Regions from separate parts of the Homo sapiens genome. Here all the other regions are linked to region 5. Evidence: promoter capture Hi-C in 16 types of primary human blood cells and fetal thymus (Javierre and others, 2016). All regions are on one chromosome and are shown on one strand. Each heading gives the region's core, a stretch centred on a gene start or on the middle of the fragment in contact. The rest is flanking DNA. Distances are from core to core; before and after follow the strand shown.

Evidence for each region. The method cuts DNA at HindIII sites, captures the fragments that hold promoters and counts their contacts. A CHiCAGO score of 5 or more calls a contact.
Region 1: a contact is called between the fragment with the promoter of FKBP1A here and the fragment with the promoter of STK35 in region 5, in 3 of 17 cell types (neutrophils, monocytes and fetal thymus). The highest score is 10.4, in neutrophils.
Region 2: a contact is called between the fragment with the promoter of NSFL1C here and the fragment with the promoter of STK35 in region 5, in 1 of 17 cell types (neutrophils). The highest score is 8.0, in neutrophils.
Region 3: the fragment with the promoter of SDCBP2 here is called in contact with the fragment with the promoter of STK35 in region 5 in 4 of 17 cell types (total CD8 T cells, monocytes, naive CD8 T cells and 1 more); the score reaches 6.7 in total CD8 T cells.
Region 4: the fragment with the promoter of SIRPB2 here is called in contact with the fragment with the promoter of STK35 in region 5 in 2 of 17 cell types (monocytes and M2 macrophages); the score reaches 8.5 in monocytes.

Annotation. Positions count from the first base shown.
Region 1 is chr20:1,391,778-1,394,605 of GRCh38, reverse strand. FKBP1A (FKBP prolyl isomerase 1A) reads left to right here and starts at 1,552. Exons shown (of 5, transcript NM_000801.5): 1 at 1,552-1,644; 2 at 1,725-1,772. The coding sequence starts at 1,608. FKBP1A-SDCBP2 (FKBP1A-SDCBP2 readthrough (NMD candidate)) reads left to right here and starts at 1,434. Exons shown (of 10, transcript NR_037661.1): 1 at 1,434-1,644; 2 at 1,725-1,772. It overlaps MIR6869 (microRNA 6869), which reads left to right and starts at 1,645; the gene lies at 1,645-1,706. RefSeq lists silencers at 1,496-1,545, 1,746-1,845, 1,856-1,925 and an enhancer at 1,660-2,160. The HindIII fragment of the contact is 4,016 bases long and covers 1-2,649 here.
Region 2 is chr20:1,465,334-1,468,103 of GRCh38, reverse strand. NSFL1C (NSFL1 cofactor) reads left to right here and starts at 1,255. Exons shown (of 9, transcript NM_016143.5): 1 at 1,255-1,384. The coding sequence starts at 1,280. RefSeq lists a silencer at 961-1,230 and an enhancer at 1,525-2,026. The HindIII fragment of the contact is 14,006 bases long and covers 1-1,984 here.
Region 3 is chr20:1,327,834-1,330,533 of GRCh38, reverse strand. SDCBP2 (syndecan binding protein 2) reads left to right here and starts at 1,395. Exons shown (of 9, transcript NM_080489.5): 1 at 1,395-1,449. The region is part of intron 2 of FKBP1A-SDCBP2 (FKBP1A-SDCBP2 readthrough (NMD candidate)); the gene reads left to right. The region is part of intron 1 of SDCBP2-AS1 (SDCBP2 antisense RNA 1); the gene reads right to left. The HindIII fragment of the contact is 15,880 bases long and covers 1-2,700 here.
Region 4 is chr20:1,490,067-1,492,906 of GRCh38, reverse strand. It overlaps SIRPB2 (signal regulatory protein beta 2), which reads left to right and starts at 1,487. Exons shown (of 5, transcript NM_001122962.2): 1 at 1,487-1,632. The coding sequence starts at 1,548. The HindIII fragment of the contact is 958 bases long and covers 764-1,721 here.
Region 5 is chr20:2,100,393-2,103,092 of GRCh38, reverse strand. STK35 (serine/threonine kinase 35) reads right to left here and starts at 1,266. Exons shown (of 4, transcript NM_080836.4): 1 at 918-1,266; 2 at 1-325. The coding sequence starts at 1,211. RefSeq lists silencers at 1-450, 741-790, 801-1,090, 1,191-1,380 and an enhancer at 1-505. The HindIII fragment of the contact is 3,640 bases long and covers 600-2,700 here.

The DNA.
Region 1 (2,828 bases), core at 303-2,802, 710 kb after region 5:
GGGTTTCACCATGTTGGCCAGGCTGGTCTTGAACGCCTGGCCTCAAGTGATCTGCCCGCCTCAGCTTCCCAAAGTGCTGGGATTACAGGCATGAGCCACCGTGCCCAGCCTCAGGTATTCTTTATAGCAGTGTGAGAATCGACTAATGCAGAAGCACACACACACACAGATCAGAGAAAGATTAGTCACATGTGCCTCCTTATGTCCTAGACCATGTCACAGTGTTCTCTTGCGTTACAGTGCCTCTGCAGGTACTGCTCCTTCTGCCTCCCCTTACCCCAACACATACACACAATTGGCCTTCTAACCTTGGCTAAACCTGGCTAAACCTGGCTAACTCAGGGAAATATCTGACCACATTCCAGACTAAGTGAGGCATCTCTGTTATATTAACACGCCCCTCACAGCATGTATTACTGTCTCATAATATTACAGATTTGAAACTTTACATTTATTCCGTATCTTTTTTTACTTAAACAGGTTATTTGATTATCTCTCCCACATCATACGTAGATTCTGTGAGGTCAGGGACTAAGTCTGACTCCTTCACCGCTGTATCCTCAGCACCTAGCACAGTACATGACATACAGAAGGTGCTTGTCAAAGTCAAAATAAAATATGGAGATGAATCTCTAAATGTAATGTTTTATTTGGGGAAGCGAGAATCGCAACTCGGAGCATACACACAGATCTGGTGGTCTTTGGTATGTCCGAAAAACAAAGAGAAGGCTGGGCGTTTTATTAGAAAGGGAAATGCATTGGCACTAGTAAAGTTTCAGGGAGCTGGCAAGCTCTGATTGGTGACTGACAGTGGTAAGTAAAACTAGTATTAGGTTATGGCGGGTTGTTTCAGCAGTTACTAGCTGAATCTGGTCTCAGGGGGACAGCAGGCCATTTCCGCAGCAGTTAGTGGAAATATTGGTTCTTGGAGCAGGCGCTGCGTGCCTCCAGTGCTTTTCCCCTGGCCCCTGGATTCTGATTCCGTTGGGCATAAGAAGAGTGACCCAATTCGTATTATCAACTTTCACATGCTCAATAAGAATGTATGCATGTAAGCTATGGGTGAGTGAATGAATTTGGACAACTCCTCCTCCAGTGAAGAAAAGCAGAACTTACAACCTTGAGCCACTTATAAAATACTAACATACTACCACCACCTGTGCGCTGTCTTCTCAGAACCATGCTCTTCCCAGGATGAGTAACTGTGTGCTTCTAAGTGGAAACCTGATGACAGTCACCCAGTCAGTGACTGGCGGACCCCCTATTATTACTCCCATTCTTTGGGCAGGGAGATGCTTAACCGGCTGGAAGCACAGAGGAAGGGCAGGAGAACGAAGCAAGTCACCCGGCAAACACAGCTGTATCCGGAGGCCTCCGGGCTTCCGGAGGTCTCGGGGCTTCTGGGCTTCCGGTCCCTCTTCCGGAGGCCTGGGTTTCCGGGACGTCGCGCGCCGTGTGGGGCGCGCACGCAGGGCTGGGCGTGAGGGGGCGTGCGCGTGCGCAGGCGACGCGCCGAGGTACTAGGCAGAGCCGTGGAACCGCCGCCAGGTCGCTGTTGGTCCACGCCGCCCGTCGCGCCGCCCGCCCGCTCAGCGTCCGCCGCCGCCATGGGAGTGCAGGTGGAAACCATCTCCCCAGGAGACGGTGAGTAGTGGCGCGCGGCGGCTCGGAGTACCTCTGCCGCCGCGCGCATCGGCTCAGCATGCCCGTCTCTGTCTCCTCAGGGCGCACCTTCCCCAAGCGCGGCCAGACCTGCGTGGTGCACTACACCGGTGAGTCGGGGGCCCAGCGGGGAGGGGGCCCGGGCCGCAGTCCGCAGCCCGGGTGCGGCTGGCCGTCGAGGCCTGGGGGCCCGGGGCCTGGGGTCCGGGGCGTGGCGGCGGCGAGGTCCGCATGGCCCGAGGCTGAGGCCTGGGCGGTGGCTCAGGGGCAGCCTGGGGCTTGCGGAACCCGGGCGGGTCTGAATCGGCGGCTGTGAGCGTCGGCTGCGGGCTAGGTGTTATCTGACCCGTCAGAAGCATTTCTGCACCTTAGATGCTGCCCTTATGCCCGCTGCACAGATGAGGAAACTGAGGCTTGGCGAGGCGAAGTCACTTTCCCAAGGTCTCACTTTCCCAAGGTCACACTTTCAGGAATGGGCAGAGCTCTGGCCAGGGACCATTAGGAAGGATTTGTACCATTTCTGTGCCCCTGCCCCCACTTCCATCCCTCCCTTCACTGGAGATGAGGACGAGGTAATTCCGAGTCTGCAGAGCTGCTGCTTCCTCCGGGGAACTCGGAATTCGCCCCTTTGCCTAGGGTGGGGAAACATCCCACTTCCTAAGTCATTGCTTTGGCCCTTCCTGGCCTTGGGGGAAGTAGAGCTGCACGGCCTTCTTCCGTCTTTTTACTTTTGAGCCACTTACAAATCCAAGGCTCAGTGACAGCGCTGGCTCAGGCTGACCGAAAGCTGCACGTGTAATTTAGTCCCCCAGCTCTTCTAGAAGTAGAGACTTTTCTCGTCCTCATTTTAAAGATAAGCATCTGGAGGCTAATACATAGTGATAATACAAGCCAAAGGAAATTTTAGACACCTCCCCCTCCCCAGCCAGAATTCAGACATCAGAGTCGTGTGCCTTGGGGCTGTCTTACTCCTTCTCCTTACAAGCTTGTCCTGGTTTGTATGGGGGCGGGGGAGGGGGAGAGCTGAGTTGGCGGAGACTCAGTGGCTGTGGGTCCCACAAGGGTGGCAGTGATTGGTGTAGCCACAGTTGTTGATACGAATAACCTTCCCTCCCCCTCCTCCTTCCCCTTTCTCAACCTTCCCACCCTTTCCTCTGTTCCCCCTC
Region 2 (2,770 bases), core at 6-2,505, 630 kb after region 5:
TTCAGCAAAGCCAATTTACTTCTGCAGAAGGGTGCCACTCACACATCTGGTCTTCAGGAAAGCACACCGAACAAAAGAGAGAAGGGGTTTTTATCCCTAATGCGGTTAGTCGCTGCTTCTGTGTCCTGTTCCCATTGGCTGGGGCTGGACTGCGCAATCTAAGCTAATCCCGATTGGCTAGTTCAAATGGAGCAGAAATGTGGGCTACAGTGGTAGGGCAAGCGGTTTCGGCAGGAAGAAGAGTTTCCGCGGGAATGGCAATTGTAGCGAGGGTATCCAAGGGAACAGATGTGAGTTATAGATTAGGACCCGCGGGAAGGTTGTTTACCGTAACTAGGGGTAAGGAGGTACAAAGAACAAGGAAGTTAGGCTTTGAAAATAGAGAACAAAGAACAAGTAAGCTGAACAAGTAAGTTCCTCTTTGGAGAGGCAAGAGGGCAAAGAAGCTGAGGACCCAGAAGACAGGATTGTGCCTAAGAAAGTGGCCTTGGAGCAGAGGCCCAAAGAAAGCGGGGAGAGCGCCTTGCCCATCGGTAAGGGAAAGGTGCTCCAGGCACAGAAGCAGCTAATGCAACGGCCCTGAGGCAAATGCAAGATAACTGGCAAGTTCCAGGAACAGCAAGGAGGGCAAGGCGCCTGGAGCAGAGGAAGCTAGCGGATCCCTTGATGAGAGGGAGGAACTGGCCCATCTCTCATGGGTCCTGCAGGCAGGCCATGAGACTGTCTTTTATGCGGGGCGAGATAACGAGGCATGGACGTGTTGTGAGCGGAGGCCTAGCCTGTTCAAGGTCTGAATTTTTACCCCTAGAATGTAAGAAGCATGGGAGCAGGGACTTTGTTTTGCTCCCTGCCATATCCACAGCCCTAGAAAAACGTCGGGCCATTGATAGCTCTCAGTAAATGCTTGACAAGTAAGTGAATGAACGAATGCACAATTAATGAAATGAGGGCTGCGTCAATGAATAACTGGGAATCTGACTCCTGCAGGGAGCCTTCAGCCCACAGGTGTATGTAAGACCCGCCCCGCCTCTCATCCTTCGGGCTCCCACCCCCGCCGTTAGGCTGCGGTTCGCGCCGCGGTCGCCAGAGGGCGCGGAGCGGCGGGGCTTCCCGCACGGAGGGCTTTGCGTGAGGCACCGCGTGGGGCGGGGCTGCGGGCGGGCTCCCAGCTGCTGGGCCCTCATCGGCTGGGCCTCGTCGACCGGCAAGCGGAACGCGGCAGCGGGGCTGGGCCTGTGCGGCGGCCGCCGGAGCGCTTTGGAAGGCGCACGGGGCGAAGATGGCGGCGGAGCGACAGGAGGCGCTGAGGGAGTTCGTGGCGGTGACGGGCGCCGAGGAGGACCGGGCCCGCTTCTTTCTCGAGTCGGCCGGCTGGGACTTGCAGGTAGCGCCGCGCGGCGGGCTGTGTCGGGTGGGCCGGGGACTGCTGGGAGCGGGCGCCTGGTGCCTTAAGCCCGCGGCGGCCGAAGCGCACAGTCATCCCCGCTCTACCGCGGCCCGACCCAGGCCTCATGGTCCCGGGACCGCTTGTCACGCGTCGCCTGCTCGGCTTGGGAGTGGGGGAACGCGGGCCAGCCCCAGCCAGTTCTGCCGTGCCAGTTTCACCCTGCCTCGCCCGCTTGCGGCGTCAGCGAGACTTCGGGCGCTGCGGCAGCCGGCGAGGAGAGGGAGCGCCTGGGGGCGTGGCTGCCGCGCCGAGTATCTGCTGGAGGCCGGGCTGGTCCGAGTGAGCAGCTCTTGGGTGAAGCCCCACTCGGGACTAGGTGGCCGCTCATTTCCACTTCCGAAGTCCAGCCCGGGAGTTGACCGCCGCCCAGCCTTCCTAATTGCTGGGAGAATACCTCTGGGGTGGTGGCGCAAGGTTGGAGCTTCTTCACCTTGCGTAGTTAACTTATCTGTAAAATGGGAGTCTCGTGGAAATTGCTGTGTAGTTCATTGGCACGTACTGAGTATTCACTAAATACTTGCTAAGAAGACTTAAGCTTCACGAGGCAGGGATTTTTGTACACTGATGAATTCCCAGTGCCTGGAACAATGCCTGGCACATAATAAGCATTCGGTAATTAACTGTAGAAAGAATTGCATAAATATTCTTGGCCAGCTTCGTCTTAGGTAGATGATGACGGTGATGACTAATATTTATTGAGTACCTACCATGAGCCAAGCGCTGTTCTGACTGCTTTACATGTCTTTTGTCATTTAACCTTCGCATTTTGCAGCTGAGATTAAAGAGGTTAAGTAACTTGCTCAAGGCCTCACTAGCTACCAGGCAGAAGAGGTAGAAGTGGAACCCAGTTCTGTCTGATTGCAAGCAGACAGAGCCCAAGCTTTAAACCACCATGTGCCAAGCACTTTACATAATATGATTCGTTGGATCCTAGCAACACTATGAGGTAAAGACTAGACCCATTTTATGGATGAGGAATTGGAAGCACAGAGGGCAAAGAATTTGCTCAGGGTCACATAGCCAGTAAGTAGCGGGGTTGGAATTTGAACTGAGTCTGCTGCCAAACGTAAATTACTCCCCAAACATAAGAATTCGGTAAAGCATCACACCTAGATCACACCTAGACACAATGGGAAGCCCCTATGCTGGGCAGAAATAAAAAGTTTCTACCTGAAAGACCTAAAAGCACACAGTGTTGTGACCAACAGATCTTCTGTCTCGTTCCCCTCACATTGTAGTGGGGAAACTGAGGATCATGCATGTGACTTGCCTGGCAGGAACAGGACTTGAATGTAGGCTCCCTGAGAATGCCAGTTCACTACA
Region 3 (2,700 bases), core at 146-2,645, 770 kb after region 5:
CTCTGCAGGGATGGCATGAGAAGCCATTGAGATAATGCCTTTAAAGTGCCAGGGGTAGAATCTCTGTGCTCTCTGGGAGTAAGTGCTGAATTAGTGGCAAATGTCTTTCTTGTTATTATTCCTATTGTGTGTTTCCTGTGTGGGACTCTGGGCTGTAAGCTCTTCATTGGCAGGCACAAGATCTGACACCCAAGGCTAGTGCAACTCTGCCAGGTGGGTCATGGGAACTGTGACGTAGGCCTGCCTGGCCCAGGAAGCAGCCCAGATACTGACACACCCTGAGTGTGTACAGCGTCAATCCTCATGGGACTGCCCAGCACACGAGTCCCTCGTCCCTCCCCAGGCACCCAGTGCGACAGGCACCCTCACCCAACCAAACCCACCAGGATCTAAACTAAATTCTTCCTCCTTTTCTGTTCAAATTTATATAATTATTTTTGGAATAAGTAGTACATTTAAACTTTTCAAAATTTAAGACACCAAAAATGTGCCATAAAAAAAAAAATCTCCACCTCAGCACACAGCTCCTTAGGTCTGCTCCCAAGAGACAACCACTCTAAATTCCCATTAAAATAATCAAACTTAATTGCTTCCCCCTTACAAAAGTCATGAGCATTCAGAGCAAAAGCTAACTTAAAAAAAAAAAAACCACCTTGGAACACACAAAAGTACAAACTGAAAACCTCACCCTCAATGCTGCCATTCAGAGATACTCAGCATTTTAGCGTATGTCCTCCTAGACTGCTTTCAACGCACATCCACTTTACAAAAAATGAAAACAAAATGCAAGAAGAGATTCACAATATTGATTTTTCAACATCTCACTAGAATCTCAGAAATGTTTCCTCATACCTTCTTCCTTAAGTGACTTTAATAGCTCTGTGATCTTCCACAGACAATGATTTATTCAAGCAGACCACAGAGATGGGCATTTGGGATTTCTACATTTTCCTTACTAGAAGCAGCAGTGATGGATGGGCCCTGTGACTCCACTGTAACAAATTCCTAGAAGAAATGCTGGGTCACAGGATATGACCACTTTTTAATATCCTGGCCTAGACCCCTAGATACCTATCACAAACCGCCCTCTAGCCAACTGCCTCGATCAGCAGGACTAGGTGTCCAACCCAAATTTAGAGCTATTTAAGAAAAGGCCAAGAAGTCTTGGTTCATAACCGTCTGAACAGCAGCTGTGAGGGCCTTAATCCCACCTCCAAATCCAGACTAAGGCCAAAGGCCTCCTCTGGGCTGGCAACCTGCCTTGTTTACCCAGCCACAGCCCTCACCTGTGCCCATCCCAGTCCAAGGTGAGTCAGCTGAACAGGGGACAGGCACCACCCTTCCCAGATCAGGAAGCCAGCTGAGAGACAGGGCTACGTTTCAGGGAGGGAAACAGATTCAGCAGCGGCAGCAGCTGGAGAAGGTCGTGGAGCAGCACCTTGCCTGCAGGTAAGCGCTGGGGGCCCTGACCCAATCCTGGCTGGGATTGGGATGAGTGAGACCTGCTCTCACCCTGTCCCCTTCCCTCCCTGCCCCTTCCCTTCTGGGACTTCCCAGGCAGCTTCCTTTCGAAGTGCTTCACTCCAAGCAGTCAAGTGTGAAGTGGGGTTTCTTCTTCTGATCCCAGCCCTGGACCAAGTTTGATTAAGGGCTGAGTGATTTTCTTCACCCAGACATCATGAGGGCCCCCGATGCCTTCTGACTGCCCATGACTGTGCTCAAGGAGATGAGATCCACACTTTGCTCCTTGAAAGGCCAATTCCAGCCGAAACCAGAGGCTGCAGGCAGGCAAAAAGCCCATTTCTCCCAAGGAATCCACAGCTCAGGCCGACTTCTCTGGCCTGAGGCTGTTTCTATCAAAAAACCTTCCTGCCACAGCACTGAAACACCTGCTGGGGAACTGCGCCAGGGGCTTCACCTTTCTAAGAACTGGTTTCTTCATCTGGAGACTGAAAATAGCCCACAAAGTCAGGAGAATGGAAGGACATACTGGACACAGGAGCCAGTGCATGCCCTCCTCAGCAGGGTCTCAGAAAATGGGGCAGAAAACGAGCCTGGTATGGGCTGGGCGAGCACTGGACAGGCAGCTTCACGTACAGTGGCCCAAGCTCATGACAATTCCACCACCATCACTTCCCACCTGGGCTCCTGCTCCCACTCCTGCCCTGTAGCCCATCCTCCAAACATCAGCCAGAGGAGGCCTGTCAAAATAACCCTTGGACCTTGGCACTCTGCTGCTACAAATCCCCCAGTGGCTCCCATCTCACTACAGTAAATGCCAAAGTCCTCACCATGACCTCCAGGCCCTCCAGGATCTGGCCCCTCTCACTTCTCCAGCTTCCTCCCCACTACTCCTCCTTACTCCCTCTCTGCACAACTGGCTTCTCACTGGCAGATGTCCTCTAAACACAACACCAACTCCCACCTGAGAGGCTCTGCAATGGCCGTGCCCACCCCATTAGGCCTTTCCTCAAATGTCACCCCACCCAGCCAGCAAGGCTTCTGAACCTCCTGACATGACCCTCCGTCCTGCTCTTTCTCTCCAGTGCCTCCCACCATCTAACACAGCACACAGAGTCACAAAGCCTATTTATCCAGCTCTTCCCCCAAAGAAAGTACATTTGGGGACCAAGTCTTCTTTCCTTCACTGCTGATACCTAGAACAGTACTCAGACTTAGCAGGTGCTGAGTAAGTAAGCG
Region 4 (2,840 bases), core at 238-2,737, 610 kb after region 5:
GGGGTGCTTTGTTATGCAGCAATAGCTAACCAATACAATGCCTTGCCTATTAAAATAAAATTATTTGTAAGTAAAACTTTAGAAAAAAACAATAGCTGAGAAAGAAATCTGCATAGATGAGCAGGTGATTCAGAAATTCCCGTGTAAGAATGACATGGAAAGTACTGAGGGTCTGGTGGAATCATCTAGGCTTGTGGCCCTTTCAAAGAAGTTTCACTATATAGATCTCATTGACAGGAGAACAAGTAGAGGGAGTAATGGAATTGAGCAGGGGTATCAATGCAAGGCCTCAAAAGTCTAGAAAAGACCAGTCACAGACCCAGTGCAAAGTCCTTGGGGACCAGGCCAGACTAACCTCCTCATAGTAGACACCAGACCTCTGGGACCCAGGGGACATACTCAGATCCAAGGCCTGCCACCCTGTTGCTGGAGAATCTTCAGCTTCCTCTGCACCCAGAACCTTCTGAAGCATGAGGGAGGAAGTGAAATAATGAAAGGCTGAGTTGTTCTTGTACTTTTCCCTGAGTTAATTAAAAGACTGAGTTAACCTAAAAGACAATGGTGAAAGCCTATAGAGTGCTTACTCCACCCCACACATGCTACCACATTTTTATTCCTGTTTTACAGATGAGGAAACCGAGGCATAAAGTGGTCAAATGATTGTCCTAAGGTCACACAGCCAGACTGAGTAAAGCCAAGATTTGAACCCAGACAGTGTGGCTAAAGAGATTGCCTGGATTGCATGAATTGGCAAGATTAAGCTTTTCCTTCTTGATAGCCAGCACCAGGAGGCTCCTGAGGAAGTTCAGATCACTTACAGGAAACAAAGATGCCACAAACGCAAATGTTTGCACAATCTGAGTATGTTTCACTTGGACCCCAGGAAACAGAGGCTGAGAGAGTTACACATGATTATACTTTTAGGAATTAGGCCTGTACCCTCCCTGCAGTGCTAAAAGGAGGCCCCCATGGGGCTTGCTTTATAATAAATCCTTCTTCTTAAGCAATGTCACCTCCTCTACTTTCTGCACATCATGAATAATAATGGTTAATATGTTTAGCATTTACATTGTTCTGTGCCCTCACATTATTTCTCATAATCTTACCAAAACTGTTCTGAGGAGGGAACTGCCGTTGTTCCTACGCTGCAGATGAAGAAACAAAAGGCTCAGAAATGGGAAGTGACTTTGAAATCTTGCACAGCCAAGAAGAGGAAGATCCAATGTTTGCTCCAAATTCCACCCGATTCTGGAGTGCGTCCTATGACCTCAGTGCCCACCTCCCTCCCGGGCACCTAGGATGGAGCCTATGGCAAGGTTTTAGCACAGTGACTACAGGAATCACAGCCCAGACACAAAAGCAGGAAACCCTTTGACCGGGCTCCTTCCTATTGCACCAACAGCCTTGTGTTGCTGCAATGAAAACACTTCCCCAAGCAGCTGTGGCCAAGAGACGCAGAAACTGCCTTGTCCACGGGCCCCGCCTCAGACTCCAACACTCACAAGAGAGCAGAGGAGCCCCAAGTCTTGGGGACCACAGAAGATGCCATGTGCTCCACGATGTCGGCCCCCACCTGCCTGGCCCACTTGCCTCCCTGCTTCCTGCTGCTGGCACTGGTCCTTGTCCCCTCAGGTAAGTGGGGTCTAGGATAGAACAGGGTCCACCCCCGGCTGGTCAGTCCCTAGAGGGGCACTAAGTGCTCTGCCATGCCTGAAGAAGCTTGACCCCATGAAGATAGAGTAAAGAGGGGTCCACTGAAAATTTGCCTGACTCCGGCAGAGGGCACCCCCAGTGTCCCAAGAAGCAGCGTAGTGAAGTGATAAGCTCCCAGGCTCTGCGCTCACACCCACTGGCTTCCAGCTTGATTGCTCCTATGCCCACGTCAGATGCTGCAGCTCTTTTAGCCCCAGGAGCCTCTTCTACAAAACAGGGACGCTCATGGGACCTTTCTCTAGGGCTACTGTGAGTATTAAATAGAAAAGTGGTGAGGCTCAGCCCTGGGCCGGCTGCATAGTTTATGAGACCCACTGCAAAATGAAAACTGCGGTCTTTTGTTCAAAAAGTATTGAGCAACACAGCAGAGCAGTAAACCAAGCATGGGCTCCTTCTAAGCACAGGGCCCTGTGCGACTACATAGATGGCACAGCCATGAACCAGCCCTGGCTCAGCTTAAGACGCAGTAGGCTCAAACCTCACCACTAACCAGTTTAAGTAATTTCTTTCTGAGCCTCAGTTTTTCCAACTGTAAAATGGAGCTAAAAATAGGACCCACCTTGGGACTTTCTTAGGAGAATTTAACAAGATAATACCCATAAGTGCCTGGCATAACAAAGATTTGATAACTCTTGGCGATTATTATTATCATTCCCATGTTTCCTCTAACTCAGGGGCAGGCCAGGTTAGCTCCAGAGTCTTGAGACCCCTGAATATATAGCTCAGCCTCTGAGTCCAGAACTCTCTGATCTACCAGGCAGGGATACTTGGCTCTCAGTGGGCTCATTCCATCTCCTGCCCATCTGGGCCTCTGCTCCAGGCTCTACTGAGATCTAGATTCTGTCCATGACATCTTTGGTCCTCCGGGGTGGCCATCCCCAGGAGAGATCCTGGCAGAACCCAGGTGTGGGGTCGGACCTAGGTGCTCCCTTACTCATTGGCCGTATGACTCAAGACACCACTTCAATTCTCTAAGCTGATTTCCTCAATTCTAAGATGTGAATCATAATTGCTAGGTCTCATTCCACAGGTACTTTTGAGTGTCTGCTATGTTTTAGGCACTAGACTAGGAAATCAGAAATCTAAACTACTCAGAATAAAAAATATTCCCAATGATTGTTGCAATA
Region 5 (2,700 bases), core at 17-2,516:
CCGCCAACAGGCTGTAACGCGGCCGCGCGGACCCGCCACCGCCCTCAGGCCGTCGCCGCGCCAGGAAGGCCTCGCCCGGGGCCTCGGCCGCCACCGGATCCATGGCCCGGGCCGCCGCCGCCGGCCTCAGCTTCGTGCTGGGCGCCCGCGGCACTGGGCTTCGCCTTTTCCGCTCCGGGCTTTGTGTACCTCTGCGGGCGCCGTCCTTCCCCGTTTCCATGGCTGCGGGCGGCGGGGGGAGCAGCAACGGCGCTGCCCGGGCCCCCCCTGCCTCATCCCTCCGTCCGGCCCTGGGACGCGGAGGAGCCGGACCTTGGATTGTGACCTGCGGGCGAAAGAATCGGTTAAACGGCCAGGCCAAGGCGGGGAGGCCAGGAGCGTAGGCCGCGGGGCGTCCCACCTCCTCCTCCCCCGGCCGCCGCGGCCCCTTTAAGACGGAAGCCACCGCCGCTGATTGAACGGGGGAGGGGAGGGGAAAGCGGGAAAGACCGAACCACTGGGCAGCAGCTCAGAGGGGGAACCGGAAAGAAAAGCACAAACTCTCCGCTCTCTCTGTTAGCTTGTCATGTAGCGATAGGAAAAAGAAGAGCCAGCAAGCTTCACGCCTTCTGAAAACCGCTTAGAGACGCGATTTGGCCGGCGGAAATATTTTTCTTTGCTTGGCCCCCTCTGTGACGCTCCTCCCCGCGCCCCGCCTTGTGTTCGCCCGGGTGTAAACAGTCCATTGAATTAAGCCCTAGCGGAGCCCAGCGGACCGACCCAAGTCCCCGAGGGCGACGGGTAGAAGGGATTGGCTGAAAAGTTCGGCTTCTCGGAGTGCGACTGGCCGAGGACCCGATTTCCCTTCCCAAGCGCGGAGGCAGTGGCAGTAACTCCAGCCTCGGCGCTGGCCTTCAGTCCTCCAACGGCGCCCTTACCTGGCCCGCGCACCTCCACTTCCGGGCGGCCCGTTTCCCCCCTGGAGCCCCTGCCTGGGGATGGTCCGCTCCGGGCCCGGGCTGCCTCCGGGACCGAGCAGCGCGGGAGGTGGCGGCCCGAGCCCGGCGTGTAGCGGATCCTTCTGCTGCCGCGGCGCTCGCTGGGGAAGCCTGGGCTCCTAGGCTCCCGTGGCTTTCCACGTGTTCGCGCCAGCTGAGCCCTTTACATAACCTCTTTACATAAGCTGCACCTCCCGCCGGCGCCCGGGCCAGCGGAGACTCCTGGTGGCCCATCCCCCGGGACGCCAGCCGAGTGAGCCCTGCACCGCCCGGTCCTGCAAAGGTCGACGGAGCAGCCGCAGCCGAGCGCACCGGCACGCCTTGCCGGGACCCAATCACTGGCGAGAACACCCAGCCAACAAAAAATAGGCGCGAAATTCCCGTGATCCGCGGCGGGCTCCGGGTCTCCGCAGCGGCCCGCGCATCACTATCCCTTCTCGCCTGATCTGCGTGAAGACCAACCGTCCGCAGTAGGCGCCTAATAAATACTGACTGGGTGATTGTCTTGGTCGTTTGATTCATAGCTCTGTCCTGGGAACCTCAGGGACTGGGTTGGAATCCCGACCTTCCCTTCTACCAGCCCAGTGATCTTGTGCAAATCATTGACCCACCCTGAGCATCCGTTTATCTAATGATCCTCTGCAAAATGGATAGAATGGGCTTTAATTCCCAGGAATGATAGACCCAAATGAAATACCTAGATGGAGGCTAATTGGGTGTGGGGCTGTTAGTACCCAAAGCTCCCATTTAGGCACAGATTTTTGAATATTTTGTTCTGTATTTTGTATTCCAGTGTAGGCCTAGTGGGTGCCCAGTGTTTGTTAACTGAATCTACAGATGTTTATTGAACACCCGTAATGTGCTAGGCACCATTCCAAGTCGCTGGGGAAAGAGCAATAGACAAGGCAGTTTCTGCCTTGGTTGAGGTTCTGTGCCACTGCAGGAGACAAACCACATGGGTGGCCTTGGGCAAGTTAGTCAACCTTCTTGTGTATTTGTTCCTTACCTGTAAGAAGATCCACAGAGGTTATACAGGTAAAGCACTTAGGACAGCCTTGCACACAATGTTAAGTATTATTAAATAAATGCACAGGATAATTTTTGCCAGTGGTAAGTGTGATGGAGAAAAAGAATGAGCTAAAGAGTGCTCACTGGATACAGGCCATTTCTTATAATGTATTTGGTCGCTGAAAACCTCTTAACTTTTTTGTGATTAAATTTCAAATTTACACATAAATTTCAAGAATCGTAAAGATCATATACTTTTCCACTAGAATAACAAATTGTTATATTTTGCTGCATATCCATATCCTCTCGTGTATGTGTATATATACACACAAATACATATTGTGTGTGGATATCTATATGGTATATACCCCAAAAGAAAGGAAATCAGTATACGGTATATAGATATTCACACACACACATATATAATGTATATATTCTTTTTTACTACATCATTTTAGAGTTTCCAACATCAAACTCCTTTATCCTAAATATATGTGTGTGTTTCCTTAAAAAAAAGACATTATCTGGCATAATCTCAGTACAGTGGTCAAAAATCAGGAATTTTAACAATGATACAATTGTTTTATTTAATACACTCCATCCATATTTAAATTTTGCTAATGGTCCCAATAATGTCCTTTATAGCTATTCCCCAGGATCCAATTCAGGATCAGACGTTGCACTGAGTTGTCATGCCTCTTTAGTTTCTTTTAAT